3 separate regions of the Homo sapiens genome follow, and regions 2 and 3 are each linked to region 1. Evidence: promoter capture Hi-C in 16 types of primary human blood cells and fetal thymus (Javierre and others, 2016). All regions are on one chromosome and are shown on one strand. Each heading gives the region's core, a stretch centred on a gene start or on the middle of the fragment in contact. The rest is flanking DNA. Distances are from core to core; before and after follow the strand shown. Region 1 holds the start of XPA (XPA, DNA damage recognition and repair factor). Region 2 holds the start of NANS (N-acetylneuraminate synthase). Region 3 overlaps ANP32B (acidic nuclear phosphoprotein 32 family member B).

Evidence for each region. The method cuts DNA at HindIII sites, captures the fragments that hold promoters and counts their contacts. A CHiCAGO score of 5 or more calls a contact.
Region 2: a contact is called between the fragment with the promoter of NANS here and the fragment with the promoter of XPA in region 1, in 1 of 17 cell types (neutrophils). The highest score is 5.3, in neutrophils.
Region 3: a contact is called between a fragment that was not itself captured here and the fragment with the promoter of XPA in region 1, in 1 of 17 cell types (neutrophils). The highest score is 6.3, in neutrophils.

What each region holds. Positions count from the first base shown.
Region 1 is chr9:97,694,768-97,699,423 of GRCh38, forward strand. It overlaps XPA (XPA, DNA damage recognition and repair factor), which reads right to left and starts at 2,573. Exons shown (of 6, transcript NM_000380.4): 1 at 2,354-2,573. The coding sequence starts at 2,525. It also overlaps the pseudogene KRT18P13. RefSeq lists enhancers at 1,965-2,024, 2,035-2,084 and a silencer at 2,635-2,734. The HindIII fragment of the contact is 4,221 bases long and covers 1-4,157 here.
Region 2 is chr9:98,054,834-98,059,489 of GRCh38, forward strand. NANS (N-acetylneuraminate synthase) reads left to right here and starts at 1,899. Exons shown (of 6, transcript NM_018946.4): 1 at 1,899-2,107. The coding sequence starts at 1,976. It also overlaps a transcript of TRIM14 not described here. RefSeq lists enhancers at 1,408-1,457, 2,498-2,617 and silencers at 1,648-1,997, 2,078-2,247. The HindIII fragment of the contact is 20,554 bases long and covers 1-4,656 here.
Region 3 is chr9:98,011,040-98,015,695 of GRCh38, forward strand. It overlaps ANP32B (acidic nuclear phosphoprotein 32 family member B), which reads left to right. Exons shown (of 7, transcript NM_006401.3): 5 at 232-350; 6 at 1,382-1,433; 7 at 4,325-4,656. The coding sequence ends at 4,392. Among named protein-coding and RNA genes, the nearest start is that of ANP32B, 30 kb to the left of the region's middle. The HindIII fragment of the contact is 2,614 bases long and covers 1,039-3,652 here.

The DNA of each region.
Region 1 (4,656 bases), core at 1,323-3,822:
AAGTGAGTGTGTATGTCCACTAAAATACATAAAAAAGAATGTGTACAGAGGTTTCATTCGTAACAGCCCCAAAGTGGAAACAACCCAAATAGCCACCAAAAGGAAAATGGAAAAAATTGTGGCATAATACAAAAGAATCTATACAACATCTAAATGCACAAACTACCAATGCACGCAACAAAATGTGTGAATCTCTCAGATACTATGTTGCGCAAAAAAAGCCAGATACTGTATGACTCAATGTACATGAAGTTTGGAAATAGGTAATACCAATCAAATGGTCAGAAGAGTATTACTTCTGAGAGTAGAGAGTGGACACCGACTAGGAAGGCGCAATAGGAAAACTTCTAAGGTTCCGGAAGTGTACATGTCTTGATCACGATGGTGTTTACACAAGCATTCACATAGGTAAAATTCAGATGAGTACATTTTACAGTATGTTACACCTCCATTTATTAAGACAGATTAATATGTTTTATTCTGCTACAGTCACTCCCCTTCTCTGGCCTCAATTTCTCCCTCTATTAAATGAAAGGATTAGATTATAAACTTGTTTCCACTGTTAACAGCAATTCTCACACTATAATGCCTGTTCATCTCTCTGTATCCCTTCATTAGACTGAGTGCCTTTACTTGTATACTTCTGACAAATAGTAAACATTCCATGAGTACCAACTGGATGGATAGAAATGAATGAACCTACCAGAATATGTAATATAAATAGCAAAGTAAATGAATGGAATGACAGTAAACACAATGAGAATTAAGAAGAGGGAAAGCTGGAGTAGTCGAGCCCATGACTTGAGCAGGATCCTAAACAATGCTAACTCATGCCCAAAACAAAGTCCGATTTCTCTCTGCTGCTATGCCTTGCTGTTTCCCCAGGACCTTAGCACCACTCTTCGTATTCTAAGCAAGTTTTTTCAGTCTTTCATGGCATATGTCATGGCACACAGAGAAAAAGAAAATTGTATAGTACCATGAAATAAAAGTGTCACAAAGATAAAAATCTCAGCACTTACCTAACTCTTGAAACATGGTGGGTTGTACACAATGCTACAATACAGTTCAGTTCTTGGGGAACTGCCTAAGAAATCTTAAAGAATGTTCATTCTACCTTGCTTTCCATGATCAAAAGTTTAATTTAATGTCAGTTTTTGCTATTTTGCACCTTCCGTTCCACAGCCATGTCGTAGACCTGGAAACCTTTATGGAATCATGACTATGAATTAATCAGTGCAAATGAACTTTCTGTCTGACTCTAGCGTGCCTCAAGTTTAGAAAGGAATAAAAGGTAACCACTATAAAGTAGAAAGGATGAGACCAGTACCATCAAAAGTAGCTGGAATTTGCAGTTTCGGTGTTAGTATGAACATCAAGACATGCTGCCAGCCTCAGACTCTTCTCACTCTCACTACATCTGGCTGATAAAAAAGAGTAATACAGCTCTAAACTGTGCTCGACAAAGGGCAGTATAGAGCTTTAGGAACACATGTACTTCATGTTATAGAGGCAGCCCTGAAGAACTGCCTGTCAACCAAACTATATTTTAAGTATCCTGTTAAAGATTATTAGTTGACCCCAGTGGCAAATTCTATAAGAGAATAATCTGCAATGAGAGATCAGTCCTTAATTTACTTCAATCAATAAACACGTTTTGAGCAACTAGTTTTTGCCAAGAAATCGCAGAGGTCACATGTCCAAGAAATAGACTCATGGAATCTATGGATTAGAATCTTAAAGGTTTACTATCCAGTCCCTTCTTCTGATTGCTGAGTAGGAGATTCTGATTGCTGAATCTCCTCTCCTCCACATAAGTAAGCGTTCTTCCAGTTCCTATTTGAGCGCTTCTAGTAACGGGAAGCTCATGAGAAGCAATCCATTGCACTTTTGGCAACTCTAATTGTTGAAAGCTCTCCCTAACAAACACCAAGATCTGCCTCTTCCATCAACTAGTTCTAGGTATAGAGGCCAGAATCAAGAACTAGTCTAACTCCTCTTTCCGGGACAGCTGAGGCCCTGACACCTGGCAGTGGCTGACACCTCCCGGCCGGGGCGGCTGCATCCCTAAACGAAAAATCGAAGCTGCCAGCAGCCGAGGTGCAGCGAAGAAGGCCCGGGGCTGGGGGTCAGGAGGCCCGCGTGCGACAGAGGAACGCTCTGTGGTCGTGGACAGGACGCTTTGACAAGGCGGCTGGCTGGGCGGATTCCCTCTCCGACTCGGGGAGAATCTGCACACATACGCCAGCGGAGTTGACGCGACCCCCGGGCCCCGGGACTCGGCTTGCACGAGCCAGTCTGGGGACCGGGGAGGCGGGGAGAGGGAAGGGGAAAGCGCGGACGCGGCCCAAACCTCCAGTAGCCGCAGCCGCCGTCGCCGAGTAGGGCCGGGCAGCCAGCCGGGCCTGGCGCAGCATCAGTGCCCGCTGCCGCTTCCGCTCGATACTCGCCCGCACCGAGGCAGGCAGCTCCGCGGGTTGCTCTAAAGCCGCCGCCTCCGGCAAAGCCCCGTCGGCCGCCGCCATCTCTGGCCCACTCCGAGGACCTAGCTCCCAGCTCCACGCACGCGCACTGCACGCCGAGGCGAGCCAGCCGCCCTGCACCGCCTCTGCGCTCCCCGCACCCAGCGGCCTTTCTGAGTGAGAGCGCCTGCGCAGTTAAGGGGCTCGGGGTGGCCTGCCCGGGCGCTGGGCGGAGTCTGGGTATGCGCGGACACGGAGTACCCGCCTAACTACCTGCTCTCTTGTCATCCGGGAGAAGGGTCCGTGCTGAGATCATATCTCACGACCTGGTCACCTTTAAAATAGGTCTCGCTTGGTGATTCAGAGTATAGGCTTTGGAGTCAGGCCTGGGTTAAGTCTGAGCTCTTGACAGTTAAAGTCTGTGTGACCTTGGGCAAGTTATTTAACCAGAGTTCAGTTTCTTCAGTGGTAAAATGAGGATAATTATGGAACCATTTACCGAGTCTTTGGGAGGATTAGATTGCCAGGACAATAACCTGGCACGTAGAAGACCTCAAAAAATGGTAACAGTGAGTAGTAGTAGTGCCAGTCATAGAGCCCAACAGATGATAGTCCTGATTTTATGTTGGATACACGGCCTAGAGACACAGCCTTAGATTTAAAATGAGAAGACCTGGGTTGAAACTCCCAGTTAACTTGCTGTGTGACCTCAGGCAAATGCAGGACTTGCTCCAAGGCTGATATGCATAAGGTTGGCTATCTTTCCCATGGAATATTCCTTCAGTGAGGATGAGCTACTGCCAGGTAGACAGTGGGTTTGGATCTGGGCCAAATATCCTGACTTCCCAAAAGTGTGGCTAGTGTAACAAAAGAAACATAGCAGGCTTTCCCAAAAATGTATGCTTTCCCTTTGTTACAAATAATGCTTAATTGAAACCAGAAAACATTAACTTCTAATTACTACATGTACCATTTAGGACTGGCTTTTAGAAAGACAACCTCACACACTGATGTTTCCCACTAATGTTCAATGGTTAACCTTTCAGAAACACAATTCAGTGTTCTAATTTATCGGTCATATATACATAAAGCTGCAAAACCTCGTATAAAGCAGTTACCTGCTGAAATCTTAGGTTGAATTGGAGATAGAATCTCAAGCCATCCCCATCTCCCTTCCCCTCAGATCCTTCTTTCTCCCTACCCATCAATCTTGCCCAGGTGAAACTATTTCAAATTCCATAACATCAAAAGCACAAGCAACAAAAGAAAAAAAGCTGGACTTCATTAAAATTAAAAACTAGGCTGGGCACAGTGGTTCACACCTGTAATCTCAACAGTTTGGGAGGCCAAGGCAGGAGGATGACTTGAGGTCATGAGTTCAAGACAAGCTGAGGCAACACAGTGAGACCCTGTCACTATTAAAAAATAATAATAATTGGCAAGGTGCAGTGGCTCATGTCTGTAATCCCAGCCCTTTGGGAGGCCAACACAGGAGGATTGCTTGAGACCAGGAGTTCAAGACCAACCTGGGCAATGTAACAAGAACCCATCTCAGGAGGTCAAGGCTGCAGTGAGCTGTGATGGCACCACTACACTCCAGCCTGGGCAACACAATAACATCTTGTCTCAAAAAAAAATTAAAGTCGTCGGCAAAGCCTGAGTCCTGTCCTCTCACTCTCCTCCCTGGACAGCATAAGCTTCACCACTCGCTCCACCTTCTCCACCAACTACCGGTCCCTGGGTTCTGTCCAGGCACCCAGCTACGGTGTCCGGCTGGTCAGCAGCATAGCCAGCGTCTGTACAGGCACGGGGGCTCTGGTTCCCGGATCTCCATGTCCCGCTCCACCAGCTACCTGAGCAGCATGGGTTCCGGGGGCCTGGCCGCGGGGATGGCCAGGGGTCTGGCAGGAATGAGAGGCATCCAGAACAAGAAGGAGACCGTGCAAAACCTGAACAACTGCCTGGCCTCCTACCTGGACAGAATGAGGAGCCTGGAGGCCAAGAACTGGAAGCTGGAGAGTAAAATCCAGGAGCACCTGTAGAAGAAGGGACCCCAGGTCAGAGATGAGCCATTACTTCAAGACCATTGAGGGCCTGAGGACTCAGATCTTCACAAATACTGTGGACAATGCCTGCATTGTTCTGCAGATTGACAATGCTGGTCTTGCTGCTGATGACTTTAGAGTCAAGTATG
Region 2 (4,656 bases), core at 649-3,148, 360 kb after region 1:
AGCCCCCAAATTTTTAACTGCTCAACTGGTTCACCATGCCCACTACCTACACAGCTGATTTATCAAAATAGGGGAATTGCAATAGAGAGAGTAATTCATGCAGAGCCAGCTGTGCAGTCTGGCTGAGTTTTATTATTACTCACATCAATTTCCCCTAGCATTCAGGGATCAGAGGTTTTTGGGGTTTTTGTTTGTTTGTTTTTGAAATGGAGTTTCGCTCTTGTTGCCCAGGCTGGAGTGCAATGGCACAATCTCAGCTCACTGCAACCTCCGCCTCCCAGGTTTAAGCGATTCTCCTACCTCAGCCTCCCAAGTAGTTGGGATTACAGGCATGCACCACCATACCTGGCTCATTTTGTATTTTTAGTAGAGACAGGGTTTCACCATGTTGGCAAGGCTGGTCTCGAACTCCTGACCTCAGGTGATCCACCCGCCTCAGCCTCCCAAAGTGCTAGGATTACAGGTGTGAGCCACTATGCCCCACCTTGGAGATCAGAGTTTTTAAGGATAATGTGGTGGGTTAAGAGAGGCCAGTATGCCAGGAGTGCTGATTGGTTGTGTTGGAGATAAAATCATAGAAAGTCAAGGCTGTCTTCTTGTGCCAAGTCAGTTCCTGGTTGGGGGACACAAGATCAGATGAACCAGTTTATCAATCTGGTGGTGCCAGCTGATCCATCAAGTGCAGGGTCTGCAAAATATCTCAAGCACTGGTCTTAGGTTTTACAATAGTGATGTTATCCCCAGGAGCAATTTGGGGAGGGTCAGAATCTTGTAGCCTCCAGGTGCATGACTCCTACGTGTCTAATCTTGTGGCTAATTTGTTAGTCCTACAAAGGCAGTCTAGTTCCCAGGAAAGAAGGAGGTTTATTTTGGGAAATAACTTATCTTATTTTTTAAATTAATTAATTAATTTATTTATTTTTGAGACAGAGTCTTGCAGTGTCACCAGGCTGGAGTGCAGTGGTGTGATCTGGGCTCACTGCAACCTCCACCTCCCGGGTTCAAGCGATTCTCCTGCCTCAGCCTCTCGAGTAGCTGGGATTACAGGCACGCACCACCACGCCCGGCTAATTTTTTTGTATTTTTAGTAGAGACGGGGTTTCTCCATATTGGTCAGGCTGGTCTCGAACTCCTGACCTCAGGTGATCTGCCTGCCTTGGCCTCCCAAAGTGCTGGGATTACAGGTGTGAGCCACCGCGCCCGCCCAGGTGATTGTATTTTAAGAGCCTGGGGCTGGGAGGTCCGGGTACTAGTCCCATCTCTGCTTTGGCTTTCTGGATGGCTTTGGACAAGCCAGTGCAACTTCTCGAACCTGTTGCCTCTCATATAATAGGAACCTCCGCCACTTCTTGAAAACTTACTACAAGCCAAGTATTGTGATCAGGGGTTTCTATACGTCATCTCACAGTTCTATTTTATTTTTTTGCTTCAGAGAGAAACAAAAATAACGCTCCGGAAGACTGAGTAACGTATATATGAGCAGGAGCTGGTGACTGGCATAGGCTGGACTCGATCCAGCTCTGTGATTCTAACTCTAGCAACCCTGTTTTTTCCATTACACCATAGGGCGCGCTCTCCCCATGCTCCTGAGAGCAGGACATAGACTATGCCCTGCGCAGGCAGCCGTCCGCCTCCTGCAGGGAATGCTTGCTCCTGGGTGCACGCACGGATACCGCGATGGTCCGAGACCACGCTCTGGGACAGCAAGCCTCAAGCCTCGCACAGGAGAGGGCCGCGGAGCTTCCTCGACCCGCCCCGCCGCCCTTCCCGCGGGAGGCCCCGCCCCCGCCCCCCGCCCCGATTGGCTGTCGGGAGAGAGGCGGGGCCTAGGGGATTGGCTGCCCGGCGACCGCGGGCTGACGTGGCGGGGCTGGCGTGTGGGTCTCGCAGCGTTGCTCACAGAACAGAGTAGAGGCGGCGGCGGCGGCGGCCGGACCCAGACTGGTAGTGAGGCTTTGGACCCCGAGCCGCTGCAATGCCGCTGGAGCTGGAGCTGTGTCCCGGGCGCTGGGTGGGCGGGCAACACCCGTGCTTCATCATTGCCGAGATCGGCCAGAACCACCAGGGCGACCTGGACGTAGCCAAGCGCATGATCCGCATGGCCAAGGTGAGGCGGCAGCTCCCGGGACCCGGGATTCGGGCGCCGGGAGGGGCGGGGCGGGGCCGCGGGGAGCCAGGGCCACACGGCCTCCGCGGCTGGGTACCCTGGTCCGGCCTCTTCCCGCCCGCCAGTTCCGTTTTCGGAATCCTTCGGATCCCTCTTCCTCACCGTGTCCGCCACCCTCGTGACCTTTCTGCATTACAGCAGCTGCCTCCTAACCCGACCTGTTTCCTCCCCGTTCTGGTGCCAGAATAATCTTTCTAAAAGTCAGACTTGATCAGACCATCCCCCCTGCCTGGCACCTTCTGTGGCTCCCTCCTGCCCGCGGGTAGAGTCGAAACCCTTTAACATAGCCTTCAAGATTTTAATGACTGGGCCCCTTCCAGCCCGTCATAATTCTTCTCTGACATTCTTCAGCGACACAGAGTTACTTTCAGGAATGACAGTTCCTGGAAGTTGCTGTGGTCTCTCTCACCCGCCATTCCCTGTATATGAAATATGAAGTGGTTAAAAGCCGGGCCTTTGAGTTCAAATCTCAGTTCCACCACTACTAGCTGTGTGAACATGGGCTGCTTACTTAGCCTCCGTGAACCCTTTTCCCCATTTGAAAACGGGGCTTGAAAACAACAGTTCTTTCCACATGGAGTTGTTATGGGGATCAAATGAGATTCTCAGATAGAGCTCTGAGCCCAGCACTTGGCACACATGAGTCGGTAAATGCGTGCTCCCTCTTCTGTTGGGACTGCCATATTCTTCATTACGACCCCAGCCCCCAGCATAAGGCCTGGCCTGCACTATGATTCTTTGGTTTAGAGATAGCTCACCCCATCTTTCCTTTCCCTTCATCAATGCTACTCAACTGATTTTGTATCATTTGTGATAGGTTTTTTAAATGTTTATTTATTTATTTATCTATGTTAGAGACAGGGTCTTGCTCTGTCACCCAGGCTGGAGGTTTTCTCTTACTGTTTTTTTTTTTTTTTCCTGGTTTTTTTTTTTTTTTTTTTTGAGACAGGGTCTCTGTATCACCCAGGCTGGAGTGCAGTGGCATGATCCCGGCTCACTGCAACCTCTGCCTCCCAGGCTTAAGTGATTCTCCCACCTCAGCCTCCCGAGTAGCTGGGACCCACAGGCGTGAACCACCATGCTGGGCTAATTTTTTTGTAGAGATGGGGTTTGGCCATGTTACCCAGGCTGGTCTCGAACTCCTGAGCTCAAGCAATCTGCCCACCTTGGCCTCCGAAAGTGCTGGGATTACAGGTGTGAGCCACCACCCTCGGCCCTTGCTGTTCCTTCGGGACTGGTTTTATGGAAACCTAATCACTGAATCATAAAAATACTTTACAAAAATAACATTGCTAACATTTTTTGAGTGCTTACTCTACCAGGTACTAAGCTAAATGCTGTACATGCACCATCTCATTTAATTTTTACAACAACCCAATGCCATGATGCTGCCGATTTCATTTTAAAGGCTAAGAGAAAATAAGTGACTTAGGCAAGGTCACATAGCTAGTATAATAAATACAGTAAGGGGTTTTTTCAGTTTTTGCTCCTAAGCCACAGGACTCCAGCCTTTCTTCTGCAACATTGTTTTCTAGAGGGAAATTCCCACTCTTAATTTGAAGGAGCAGTCTGTTTTTCCTCTTGGAATGCCGAAGTTGTAGAAATATCTAGAGATACTGAAGCCATAGAAACAAAGCTGTACTGACCAGGTGCAGTGGCTGATTCCTGTAATCCCATCACTTTGGGAGGCTGAGGAAGGCAGATTGCTTGAGCTCAGGAATTCGAGACCAGCCTGGGCCACATAGCGAGACCCTGTCTCTAATTCCATTGAGCTGGAATCTAGGTGGCTGCAGCCTTTAGGAAAGGGATCTGGCCAGCTCTGCTAGAGACACTGTGCAACTTTAGTCAGGTCAGTCTGGGCCTTGGGATCTTCATCTAGACAATGAGAGCTCTGTTGCCCAAGGTCACTTTCAGTTCTAATGTTCTTTGAACTTTCCAGCATCAAGTCCTGACTCTACCATCTTATGATTTGTCTAAGAGCAGGAGTAGTGATCTCAGCACTGACATTTCTGGACCCAAGAAGTTTTTATTTTTTTTTTTCAAGACGGAGTCTCGCTGTGTCACCCAGGCTGGAGTGCAGTGGCGTGATCTCGGCTTACTGCAAGCTCCGCCTCCTGGGTTCACACCGTTCTCCTGTCTCAGCCTCCCGAGTAGCTGGGATTACAGGTGCCCACCACCACACCTAGCTAATTTTTTGTATTTTTAGTAGAGACGGGGTTTCACCATGTTAGCCAGGATGGTCTCGATCTCCTGACCTCGTGATCTGCCCACCTCGGCCTCCCAGAGTGCTGGGATTACAGGTGTGAGCCACTGCGCCCGGCAGCCAAGAAGTTTTTAATAGCATGAATACCTCTGTGTCTACAGAAATGGCCGTGAGATGGGACTTTAGTGGGTTTTAATTACTCTTTTTCTTGAGTAGATTGTTTTTGTTTGAGTCAAGGTCTCACTCTGTTGCTCAGGCTGGAGTGCAGTGGCACCATCATAGCTCA
Region 3 (4,656 bases), core at 1,096-3,595, 320 kb after region 1:
TTCATCAGCGAGAATTATAGTGTTTGTCTTATCTACCAGGACTTCTAGCTCTCTGATTTTATGGGACTCTATCGGACAAAGGGACTGAGCTGTAGCACATAGTAGAAAGAAAGTGACTGCAGTTCGTGGCCTTACAGCATTTGTTCTGTGAGCCAGCCCACAGATCCTCAACACTTTGTCCCCTGTGGAGCGTCGAGGATATTTAATGAATCCCTTTTGGACTATTTTTAGAAGGAGAAGATGAGGAAGACGAGGACGATGAGGATGGTGAAGAAGAGGAGTTTGATGAAGAAGATGATGAAGATGAAGATGTAGAAGGGGATGAGGACGACGATGAAGTCAGTGAGGAGGTCAGTGCAGCTGTTTTCTACCCTGCTTCCTATTTGTAATTACAACAAAAGTGGGGGTTTCAAAAAGATGACAAAAGAAAAGAAAAAACACCTTTTGAAGAAATTAGTATACCTGTGAATACATTTACAATATGAATCTGGTTAATTTAGTGTTTGTCTGGCTTTAAATAACTACTAAATAGAATGCCTACTGAACTCAAACTAGTACGGTTCCTGGCTGTGCAAGGTAAGTTCTGGCCCTCTGGGGGAAGGAATGAATTGAGTATTCAGTGTGGTGAGAAAACTGGACATGTTGAGAATTGATGGTATGTCTGTTCCTTCATTGAATTGTAGGGAAGTTTATGTTTACCAAGTCTAAACTTTTTCTTGTATATTCAGTGTAATTCAGTAAATATATATCTGCTATGTTAAAGAGTTGGGAGTACAAAATGAAATGAGATTGTGGTCCTGCCCTGAAAGAGCACAGTCTGGTTTATGAAATACCCAATAATAGAGGATCCCTGAGGAAATAAATGCTATACGAGGGCAGGAGAAAACAGTGTCTTGACTTTGACCCTCAAAGAGGTTTGGGAAACAGGCAGACAACATTAGTTGTTAACAAAACGCATCCTCTTTTGTAGTATAAAAATAAGGCTTGGGGTTTGTGTGATGTCATTAGGTGTATGATTGACATTAAAGTTCTGAAAGAAGCTTTGTATATGAATGGGATATAGAAATTTTTGTCTAAATCTGTTTTGAAATTTGAGATTTTAAGATGTTTTCTTGAATTATCCAGAGTTATATACTAATTAAACATCTAGCAAATGAACTGCTTGCTTCTAAAAAAAATTTTTCTTAGAAAAATTATAAAGCTCGTTAAGGAAAATCAGTGGGTCTTGGTACATCAAAGTAGATAAAAATAACATTACAGTTTCCTGCTTGATTGATATTGTTGCATTTATTTGTACTTCTTAGTTTGGCAGAATTTGTACTATATGCACTTTTCAATTTGGCAGAATTAATTTAATGTTATGCTGTTTGCTATTCTTTAGGAAGAAGAATTTGGACTTGATGAAGAAGATGAAGATGAGGATGAGGATGAAGGTGGGCCTAATGCATGCATTTTGATCATTCTCAGTTAAAAATTAGAGAAAAACATCCATTATTTAGAATATGATACCACTGAGAAGAAAATAAAATACTCTTGGCTCTGGTGGTTTACACATTCACATTCTCGTTTCTATCGTCCCATCAGTGTGTCTGTGCTGGTGCAGGCTCCCTGCTGCTACAGCAGTTATTCCTGTCTCATGGCAAGGGTCCTGTTGGTCTTCAGTCCTCATGGGGTTTTTTTCGGGGTGGTGGTGGTGGTGGTGGTGTTTTGAGACGGAATCTCGCTCTGTTGCCCAGGCTGGAGTGCAGTGGCACGATCTCGGCTCACTGCAAGTTCCGCCTCCTAGGTTCAAGCCATTCTCCTGCCTCAGCCTCCAGAGTAGCTGGGGCTACAGGCGCCTGCCACCACGCCCAGCTAATTGTTTGCATTTTTAGTAGAGACGGGGTTTCACCGTGTTAGCCAGGATGGTCTCAATCTCCTGACCTCGTGGTCCACCCGCCTCAGCCTCCCAAAGTGCCGGGATTACAGGCGTGAGCCACCACACCCGGCCTGTTGTTTTCTTGAGATGGAGTCTTGCTCTGTCGCCCAGTCTGGAGTTCACTGGTGCAATCTAAGCTCACTGCAGCCTCCACCTCCCAGGTTCAAGGGATTCTCTGCCTCAGCCTCCTCAGTAGCTGGGATTACAGGCATGCACCACCACACTTGGCTAATTTTTGTATTTTTAGTAGAGACAGGGTTTTGCCATGTTGGCCAGCCTGGTCTTGAATTCCTGGCTGAATTCAAGTGATCCACCCACCTCGGCCTCCCAAATTACTCGGATTACAGGTGTGAGCCACCATGCCTAGCCTGTTCCCCATGTTTTAAATGTGTTTTTAGGACCAGTCATTTGGTTTACTGTCAAGTGTGAGTTTCTGTGTTTGGAGTTCTTTCATTTTTTAAAAAAAGGCTTTAATAATTGAACCATCATTTTCAGGATATATAAATAGATGTAGCAGTTTCCCAGTTTTGTCAGTGTTAGTCCTTTCCCCACTACAACCAAGACAAATGAAATAGCTGTTACTTATTTAATACTGTTGAAAGTATGCCAGCCTGGACAACATAGACCCTGTCTGTACAGAAAATTAAAAAGTTAGCTGGGACCGGGTGTGGTGACTCACGCCTGTTATCTCAGCACTTTAGGAGGCCGAGGCAGGTGGATCACCTGAGGTCAGGAGTTCGAGAGCAGCCTGGCCAACATGGTAAAATCCTGTCTCTACTAAAAATTAAAAAATTAGTCAGGCGTGGTGGCACGCACTCAAACCCAGGAGGCAGAGATTCAGTGAGCTGAGGTCATGCCACTGCACTGCAGCCTGGACAACAGAGCAAGACTCTGTCTCAAAAAAAAAAAAAAGTTAGCTGCACATGGTGGTGCACACCTATAGTCCCAGCTACTTGGGAAGCTGAGGTGGGAGGACTGCTTGAAGTTGCAGTGAGGCTATGATAGTGCCACCGCACTCCAGCCTGAGTGACAGAGGGAGACCTTGTCTCAAATAAAAAGTCTCATGGTTGTGTCTCAGAAAATCAGGTGTTCACTGTGCTGTTGGCTGATGTTTTCTCAGCATCCACTTTGTCAAGCTCTCAATTACATTTACACTAGATATTACCCTGGTTAGGACCTGGTCACTGCCTTTAAGAACCTGTATGATTGGGAGGCCGAGGCGGGTGGATCATGAGGTCAGGAGATCGAGACCATCCTGGCTAACACGGTGAAACCCCGTCTCTACTAAAAATACAAAAAAATTAGCCGGGTGTGGTGGCAGGCGCCTGTAGTCCCAGCTACTCGGGAGGCTGAGTCAGGAGAACGGCATGAACCCGGGAGGCGGAGCTTGCAGTGAGCCGAGATCAAGCCACTGCACTCCAGCCTGGGCGACGGAGCCAGAGTCTGTCTCAAAAAAAAAAACAACCTGTATGAAATATGATTTAACATATAGTTAATTTCATTAAAATAACCATGGATTTTATTAGTTGAAAAAATTGGTCTATATGTAAGTCTCTGTGTCTCGACTACATAATACTCTTAAGAATTTCCTTTTTAGTTAATATTAGTTTGCTACAATTTGAGTCTTAATGATGTTCCATACTATGTTTTGTGTGTTATTTAATTCTCAGAATAACCTTTTAAAGTCAGTACCATTGTCCCCATTTTACAGATGAAAAAGGCTTAAAGAGGTTAAGCTTGTCTGAGATCACTTGAAAGTAAGCATGTCTTGAAGACGTGCTAGATAGCACGAGGGGTTTTGTTTTGTTTTTTTGGAGACAGTTTCGCTCTTATCACCCAGGCTGGAGTCCAGTGGCACAATCTCAGCTCACTGCAACCTCCGCCTTCCGGATTCAAGCAATTCTCATGCCTCATCATCCAGAGTAGCTGGGATTACAGGTACATGCCACCATGCCTGGCTCATTTTTGTATTTTTAGTAGAGACGGAGTTTCACCATGTTGGCCAGGGTGGTCTGGAACTCCTGACCTCAGGTGATCTGCCTGCCTTGGCCTCCCAAAGTGCTGGGATTATAGGCATGAGCCAGTGGGCCTGACCAGCTCAGGTTAATAATAAGCACTTTAATAATTGCTAGATTTGTAAAAAGAAACATTTGGAAGACAACACCTTAAAATCGAGGAAACTGGATTAACTTTTCCTGGGTGAGTTGAGGTGCTGCTGTGCATTTTGCTTTTCTTGGTTCTGTGGTCACCACTTATACTTGCTATTAGTCACCTATATTAATCTGATCAAGTTTACATTGTTTTATCTCCTAACTGTCAAAAACTTTGTTGTTGTTGCCTCCATTGGCAATAATCTAAGCAAAATGCCTTTCCACTGTCCTAAAGTCAATTTTTGTTACTGTACAGAGGAGGAAGAAGGTGGGAAAGGTGAAAAGAGGAAGAGAGAAACAGATGATGAAGGAGAAGATGATTAAGACCCCAGATGACCTGCAGAAACAGAACTGTTCAGTATTGGTTGGACTGCTCATGGATTTTGTAGCTGTTTAAAAAAAAAAAAAAGGTAGCTGTGATACAAACCCCAGGACACCCACCCACCCAAAGAGCCAAAGAATAGTTCCTGTGACATTCCGCCTTCCTTCCATGTAGTCCCTCTTGGTAATCTACCACCAAGCTTGTGGACTTCACCCCAACAAAATTGTAAGCGTTGTTAGGTTTTTGTGTAAGATTCTTGCTGTAGC